3 separate regions of the Homo sapiens genome follow, and all the other regions are linked to region 2. Evidence: promoter capture Hi-C in 16 types of primary human blood cells and fetal thymus (Javierre and others, 2016). All regions are on one chromosome and are shown on one strand. The core of a region is centred on a gene start or on the middle of the fragment in contact, and the rest is flanking DNA. Distances in the headings are between cores, read along the strand shown.

Region 1 (2,706 bases), core at 74-2,573, 610 kb after region 2:
GGATTTCTCCACCAGGTCCTCTCACAGGACTCCAGGCATTTTTACAACTTGACCACACAAAAGAACACTCAGGCTGCTCCTCCCTTGCTCAAGGGAAGTACAGTAATGCCTCTCTCCGTAGCCCTTTCATAAGACTGTGCATAGATAAACACAGGTGTATACATAGCAATCTTTATGAACTTTGCATTGAATGTGTCAAAGAACAGTGGCGGTCCCAACATTCCATCCATTGTCTCAATCAGGAAAGCTACTCCTGAGACCTCAGGAAAGAGGAGGAAAAAATTCAAGTAACACATATGTTTACGAAACACTTCAGTAACAAAACAAAATACTTGTATTGGAGAGAAAATATATATATTTTTAATCACAAGGCATAGAAAGTAAAAATAATCAGCCTTAATTAGGTTTCCTTCATTAGTTGACAATGTAAATGGACTGAAACTACTACTCAAATATTCAAACCTTCATTTTACATGCAAGTGGCTTCCAGAAAATGATAAAGCAATATTCCCATGTGAGTGTGAAAGATGGCAATGAATTCTGGCCCATTATAAAGGAAGAGTCAGATTCCACTAGTCACTGCTTCGTTTAACTGCCAGGCTTTTAGGGAGCTATTTAATAAAAGGGGTCTCGCCCTAATAAATTGTGAGCGGTGTAAATAGGTGAGTGGTGTAAATATCTGAAATAGCCTGCACTCAATGAGGCTGTAGACCGCTTGGGGTTCACAGACTTTACAAAAATCATTCCGTAAAAAAATTACGTAGTGACAATCCTACCATTTAAAAAGAATAATGATGGTGATAATAATAGCTGGACAGGATCCTCCACTGCTGCCTGCTTCCCACATAAGTTGCCCAGCTGAAGGTGGTTAAGTTAAAGCCAGTTCTCTCCCCATTAGAGATGCGGGCTGGCAGCTGGCGGGGGAAGTCACCCAGTTTCCAGCTCCCCGTGGGTTTGACGGGACTGGGATTGCAACTGGGAACTAACTGGCTTGTAGGAAGCCCAGGTGGCTCAGACAGGGCTCGAGCTGTCCCCTCACCACCTTCCTCCCACGCAGACACCAAGTTAGATACGCAACTCCACGAGCACAATGACAAGAAGGCACACAAAAGGAGCAAGGCAGCCGCTCCCATCCTTACCTTTGACTTGACTTTCATACTCGGCTATGATCTCTTTGTCCTTCTTGAATCGGCTCGGGGTGGACATTATCCAGCTGTTCCGGGTTTGCTTTCAATGGGCAAGTTTTGTTCAGTGGTCACAACCCGTTCTCCTTGGAGAGGCAGAGTTGTACTCCCACACGCAGGCAATCCAGAGGCAGCGCCGACCCGAGGGAAGGGAGGAGGGAGAGGAGAAGTAGGAGGAGGAGGGGAAAAAGAGCGAGTAGAGAGGACTAGATTAGCCCGGGCGCTGGCACCATACTCTCGAAATTGAGCTCCGTCGGTAATCCCAGGGGATCCCCGGGGGAGAGGCCGGACGCGCAGGCAAACTCCAGCCAGCGAGTGGCGGGGGACGTCTCCCTGCCCACCTCGCCGGGAGCCCGGCCACTTCCTCTACGGCCGCTGGGCGGGCGCGGGGCTCGCGCCGGCGCTCCGCACCATTGTTCGAGACCCGCACCGGGCGCCCGGGACAGGGCCAGCGGCGGAGGGCAGGCGCTGGGAACGCGCCCAGCTCGGGCGCCACAACCCTCCCTTCCTGCCTCCAGCTGTCGGCTCCGGCGCTCAAGGGTCCCGCCCGGGCTGGGGATGCTGCTGCCACGGCCGCCGCTCCTCTGCCCGCAGACACTGCCGCTACAGCTCGGCAGGCGAAAGGAATCGCAGTCCTGACGCGAGTCCCCGCTGCTGCTGAGAGGGTGAAGGCGGCGACGCTCAGACGCGCCCTGGGCACAGCCCCGGCGGAGTTTAGGTCTCCAGAGCCGGCGCCGCGAGGGGCCTCTGCCTCCCTGGCCGCGGTGCGCCGAGGCTGCCTTTCTCTGCGTCCCCCTTTCCGCTGCTGCCCCCAGGAGGCCGCTAGTGACAGGCACACTCGCACACGCACGCGGGAGCCGCGCCCCCGGCGGCAGCAAAGTTGAGGGTGCGCACACGGCTCGCGCCTCGCGGGCGCCCGGCTAGCGATCTGCGGGCGGTGGCTCCTCGGGGCTCCGCCAGGCGGGGCCAGGCTCGCGGGAGCGGACCGCGCTCCGGCCTGTGCCCTTCTCCGTCCAAGCTCCCGCCCCTGCTCCGCTAGGAAACGCCTGGCTGGTCCGGGAAGATGGATGCCTCTTGTGGCCAACCGCAGCCCGGCCCCGCGCGCCGAGCCCAGGAGGCCGTGGGCGGCGCCCCCGGCACCTCCCTCCGCCGAGGCCCCGCACCTCCCTCCGCCGAAGCCCCGCTCCACCGCTAGCCGAGGTCGCGGCTCCGGCGGCAGGAAAACCCCTTCCTGACCTGAGGGACCGCCTTCTGGCTCTGGCGGGGGCTCTGGTGGGGCTTTTGCCAGAATCTAATGGGGAAGTCCAGAGTTGGATGTATCCATGACACAAAGGGATGTTACTCCGAGACGCTGGACCCCAATAGAAAAACTGAACACTGAATTGTGAATGACCTGGCTGTTAATCCAAAGAGCGCGAAGCTCTTCAATCGAGGCGGAGAAAAACACCCACCTTGAACACCATATCCTCTATTCCTACAGTAGATAGGGAAGCTAGGATGGTAGGAAAGCGATGGTATGGAA
Region 2 (2,827 bases), core at 42-2,541:
ACGATACAATAACAAACGTCTCAACTATCTAACGAAAAACCTTCCCTAATCAATGTAACTGTAAATGGCAAATAGTACCATTAGGTACCTATATGTATGTACCTTCAGGATAATAAGAAAAATATTTATCAGCTAAGATATCTGTTCTCTATGCAAATACAAAACTATGGTTTCTATTTAACAGTAATCACAATAGTGGTCAGGGGAAATGTCTTTTGAAATTATCTTCCAATAACTCCACAATAACATGTTAAAACATGACTCAGCACACCCACAACGTGCTTGCCATATAAATCTTCCCAAATTTTTGACAAGCATATAAGCAGACACTCAACAACTATGTTGCTGATGATGCCGTCTTCAGCCTACTTCCTTACACCGTCCAAAACGAAAGTTACTATTTGTTGAGGGATGAAAACAGGTTTGACGACATGGCCTATGGACAAAGTTCCAGGATTTCTAAACTCTGCCCCTATGTGATTCATACACTGGGGTTTCAGAGTGGAAAAGACCAGTCTTTGGTTATACATTTGGCAATTACTTGGGAGTTGTTTTGAGGCCACCTACTAAGAATACTTGGGATAGAGATTACAAATTAAACCCATAAGCCAGGTAGACGAGGAGCAAGGAAATGTCTGGGAATTCGTATTTCATCGGCATATATTTAAAACATCTTATGCTTCTAATTTCCGGTGTGAGTCAACCTCTGCGGACTGAACATCACTAAAACTCTAAGGAAACGTCTCTTTTTAATCCTCTGAAAAATCAATACATTTAAAAACTGCCCGTTGTGTCGACGCTCGGAAAGAGGGTAGAAAACAGCGAGTCTAAGGGAAAGAGGTGCCCCTGCCTCCCCAGGCAGCCAGGGCCCAGGCCCGGTAACGGAGTCGTCCTCTTTATGCCCAAAGCCGCCGGACGGGATGCAGGTCGAGGACCGGCCGCGCGGCGCGGAGCGGGGATGCAGGTAACAGGGCCCGCGCGACCATTCCACCGGCTACGGCCACCCGACACACACCCCAGAGGCAGTGTCCACGCAGCCGGGGTCCTGGATGGCTTGGCCTCGGGTCGTCCGGGGCTTCTCGGTGCGCCCGCCCCCGCCCCCGCTCTGACTCAGCATCCCAGCCTCCCACAGGGGGCGGGAGCGCTCCCCGCCGGGCGGCGCAGGCCTGACCGACCGCGCCCCGCGCCGCCTTGGCCCCTCAGCCCGCGGCCGTCTCACTTACCCAGCCGGGTCTCCGCCGCGCCACCGCCGGCGGGCTCCCGCGGCCTCCTCGAGACTCAGGACACTTCCGGCTTCGCAAGCCCTGGCCGGAGGCCACGTGACCGACGGCCGGCGCGCCGGTGCGGGTGCGCGTGCGCACGCCTATGGCCCGTCTGGTAGTCACCACAGCCGCGGCGGCAACTGCCGAGTCGGCTTCCGCGGCCACGGTAATGAGGGGGATGTCTGGAGACACCCCGTCCACTGTTGCCCTCGCCCTTTACTCTAAAGGGGAATGAGGAGCCCTGAGCAGCGAACACAGTAATTGGGATTCCCGCAACTGCAAATCCCGCCCCTTCCCCGAGCGCTGGCCGACAGTAGGGCGGACCGACGCTGAGCAAGGGATTACATCCCAAGATTTACAGGTGTGCAGAACGTGGGACACGTGGGGGGCAGGCACAGACGGCCGGCAGAGCTGGGAGGGATGGATTCTATGTTTTAAGGGCCCACTTTGGCTGCAGTGGAGCCAGATTATCGTCTCGCAGTAATTCAGACTTTACATTGTTTTTTTCATTTTCCCATCACCCAGAAATACATTAAATTCTTAATGTAAAAATGTTCATTTAATTCCCTCTCGGTATTTTGGAAAACGGCCGTATTGGAGTATCTAACTCTAAACTTAAGAATTTAAGAACTAAAACTTAAATACTAAAATTAGGTCCTGCAATATTCGTGCAGTCAAAATCTCAAGCCGCTATTCCCAATAAGGAATAGCTTTCTGAAGGGGTCCCTTCTGCCCACGGACAGCACAACAGGCCTTTCTCAACATGAGGGAGCAGAGACCGCTGCTAATCTAGGGCTAAATTTCTGAGTGGAGGGGAAGAGGAAGATGGTGTTTCCCAGAGTAGCAGCAGCAAACACGAATGAATGGGAAGTCATGCGGAGTGGCTCAGAGGCTTTTGAATGTAACAGACCTAGGGTTGCTGTCTCGGCTGCCAATTACTGACTTAAAAGCTAATCTCTTACCTCTCTAAGCCTCAGTTTTATCAAATGCACAATGGAGATAACAAAAGTCCACTCTAATGAATTCTTACAAAGCAAGTTACTTTATTAGCATTTTAAACAATGTATAAGTGATGGAATCATTCTAACAACACATCTATTCACTGCTTACAATTCCAACTAATTTCAGTTCTTTGATATCTAATGACAAGAGCGAAGACCTGTTAAAGTTCCTTCCACCAGTAAAACTCACAGCTCAAAGTTGTGGGAGTGATTAACTGAGCCACAGGCCTTCATTCACATGTTTACCACATTAAAATACCACACAGTGTTTTCTTATAAGGTCAACCAACTGGGAAGCAATTAACATTAGCATTAAGATTTAAACTGTTAGGCACAGGGCTAAATCAGGCATTATATGAAAACTTGTGGTTCCCTAGTCAAGTCAAACAAATCCCCAAATATTTCAGCTTGTAACAGTTTTGTCCTTCCTCTCTTGAGACAATTATTTGAGTACTTGCTTTTGGAAATAAGGTAATTCATGATGGAAGCTTCCTAGCTGTGATGGTGCTCTAGGCAACTTCAGAGAATGAAGATAGAAGTTATGCATGATTATATAACATGAAG
Region 3 (2,822 bases), core at 36-2,535, 730 kb before region 2:
CTCCTAAAAACCTGCAAAAAATAAAACCTACATTTATTAAAATTGTGTGGTTTTTAAAGGTAGAATTCCCAATTGAGAAAATGGTAATACAGAAAAGGTGAAAGGAATGATCAACACACATTACTTCAATTAGCCAACTATTTCTTTTGTGTATATATACACTGTGATAAGCTTTACCAGATGGTATACTCAAATTTACAGAAACTAATTTTTAAAGTATGTTTCCCAAGTCACAATATATAAATCTGATACACTGTTGCATGGTAACAAAATCCCAATTCTGAAGGCTAGCTAGTGCAGAAATATTTAGGAAAAAGAAGAGAATGCCAGCCAAAGCGTGGGGAGAGTGTCACTCCTATAGTTCTAAAAGGTATGATATATACTTATCTTCTGCCATTACCTGGTACATAGTATAGGTGCTCAATAAATAATCTGGGTGAATGCGTGACTGAATGAATAAATGAGTAGGAGAAACTTAATGTTTCTTCAAATGAACTAAATCAAACAAGAAAGCATTTGTGATCCCATGGGAGATACACTTATAAACTAAGGAAGTCCTTAATAAGGCTGACCAAGGTTCCAAGCCATAGCTCAGAGGCTAGAAGAAGTAGATATCCCAAGATTCCCCTCACCTCCTAATTAATTTCAACAATCCTCTTCATATGCTTTGAAAATTTTACCTTGGTGAATTCCTACAGAGCAAAAGCATCCTTTGTAAGTACAGCATGCTTTCAGGAATTAGCCATAGTCAGAAAATTGTGTGTGTGTGTGTGTGTGTTTGTGTACATACTCAGATATATATGAGCTAACTGAGAAACAAAATTAATTTTCTGCTATGTGCTAAAATATCCATTTGCTACTAAAGGGTTTTTTCTATTCATGTCATATTCAGGGCAGAACAGCAATTGGTGCATACTTACTACCCAATTAGTTCAGGAGAGCTGAACTACACTCTTGCATAGTTTTACAACCAAGCCTTGTTTTTAAACTTTAGCTTGCCATTTGATAGTAACATAGCTGTAAAGATGAATTCAGAAGTCATCTTGCAAAAGCATTTTAAGTAAAAAGCTGTGCAAAAGCACAGAGCAATAAATCTAGCACCCAGGAAAAATTCAGTGGTATAATTTTAAACTATACCTTGACATAAAAGAAAATGAAGACATATGAAAAGTAATTCATGATGGCTTCCATATGATAGATGCATTATTCTATTTTTAGAGATTACCTCTGTTACTATAACTTTTATAACCTTTTTGAAGAGCTAATTTCCTAAGAAATATATTTTTTAAATAATGATATTAAACATGCAAAATAAATTATTAAAACCTAACTTATTTTCTTCCTGGTAAACTCTTGTTTAAAAAAATTTTGGCAATATTGTTAATAAAGAATATTATTAACTATATATATAATATATAATATATAAACTGATGCAGTTTAAAGCATAGATTATTAAAACAGTGAAATCCAAAGGTTACTGCTCAACTATACTGTTACTGGTTCACTTTAAAATCTATGTTAGGGCAGGGCACGGTGGCGCACACCTGTAACCCCAGCACTTTGAGAGGCCGAGGCAGGTGGATTACCTGAGGTCAGGAGTTTAAGACCAGCCTGGCCAACATGGTGAAACCTCATCTCTACTAAAAAATACAAAAATTAGCCGGGCGTGGTGCCATGTGCCTGTAATCCCAGATACTTGGGAGGTGGAGGCAGGAAAATCACTTGAACCTAGGAGATGGAGGCTGCAGTGAGCCGATATTGCACCACTGCACTCCAGCCTGGGCGAGAGAACAAGATCCTGTCTCCAAAAAAATAAAAAATAAATAAAATCTATGTTAAAAATAAATCTAAATATGAAAATCAAAATCCAAAGTTATAAGCAAATAACTGTTATAACAATTTCCACAATTAGTATTAAGCTATGTTCCCATATTAAATGGCAGCAATTTTTAATGTATAATCAATACAAGATTAAAATACATCTTTTTTAAAATGTTATTTTAAGTTCTGGGATACATGTGCAGGATGTGCAGGTTTGTTACATAGGTAAACGCGTGCCATGGCAGTTTGCTGCACCTATCAACCCATCACCTAGGTATTAAGCCCAGCATGCATTAGCTATTTTTCCTGATATTCTCCCCACCCCTAGAATATATCTTCATTCGAATTTAGATTATATCATTAGTAATAAAATTTTCACAAACAAGTTAGTAGTACTTATTTATTAACAAATACATTTTGGAGAGTTCCAACAGTTTAAGGTGTCCTTCTCTTTTAAACAACTTACAAACTATATAATTATCTTTGCACTGAGGCTATAAATTTCCATTTATATAACATATTTTTCAGATAGGGAAAGTTAATATTGAATAATCAATGAGCAAGGAGAAGCAAGCTTTAAGAACTTCCCAACTCTTAGGAATCATGAAAATAATTTTTCATGATTATTTTAGTGTCCCTGAAATTATCAAATGCATCATTTCCATTAAAACATATATGAGTATAAAGGGAAAATATGAAGTTTATTCAAAAGGAGCAAAAAAGGGAGATCAAATGTATGAAAAGTTCTTTATATCCTAAAAATGAACAACAGAAAGAACAAGTTGTAATTGGTAATACAAATCAAAAGATCACTTTCCCTACCAGTTTTGAGACTGCAAATATTTTAAAAATTAGAAATAGTTTTAATATTGTATTATTGTTCTATGTATTATATATTATAGTTTGCTTCATAGCAGATGCCCCCTCCCCCTTAATTAATCTAAAACCTTAAGGATAAATAGTTCCATGTGATTCATAATTGTTGAATGAATACAACTTTT

Evidence for each region. Contacts are between HindIII fragments. The CHiCAGO score rates a contact against its expected background, and 5 or more counts as called.
Region 1: a contact is called between the fragment with the promoter of SRGAP1 here and the fragment with the promoter of TBK1 in region 2, in 1 of 17 cell types (naive CD8 T cells). The highest score is 5.8, in naive CD8 T cells.
Region 3: a fragment that was not itself captured here is called in contact with the fragment with the promoter of TBK1 in region 2 in 1 of 17 cell types (total CD8 T cells); the score reaches 5.5 in total CD8 T cells.

Annotation. Positions count from the first base shown.
Region 1 is chr12:63,843,317-63,846,022 of GRCh38, reverse strand. It overlaps SRGAP1 (SLIT-ROBO Rho GTPase activating protein 1), which reads right to left and starts at 1,323. Exons shown (of 22, transcript NM_020762.4): 1 at 1,140-1,323. The coding sequence starts at 1,206. RefSeq lists silencers at 1,481-1,740, 1,851-1,910, 1,971-2,390 and enhancers at 1,317-1,816, 1,817-2,318. The HindIII fragment of the contact is 14,499 bases long and covers 1-2,706 here.
Region 2 is chr12:64,450,584-64,453,410 of GRCh38, reverse strand. TBK1 (TANK binding kinase 1) reads right to left here and starts at 1,291. Exons shown (of 21, transcript NM_013254.4): 1 at 1,224-1,291. It overlaps XPOT (exportin for tRNA), which reads right to left. Exons shown (of 25, transcript NM_007235.6): 25 at 2,286-2,827. RefSeq lists a silencer at 951-1,420. The HindIII fragment of the contact is 9,573 bases long and covers 1-2,753 here.
Region 3 is chr12:65,178,946-65,181,767 of GRCh38, reverse strand. The region is part of intron 1 of LEMD3 (LEM domain containing 3); the gene reads right to left. Among named protein-coding and RNA genes, the nearest start is that of LEMD3, 11 kb to the right of the region's middle. The HindIII fragment of the contact is 2,224 bases long and covers 174-2,397 here.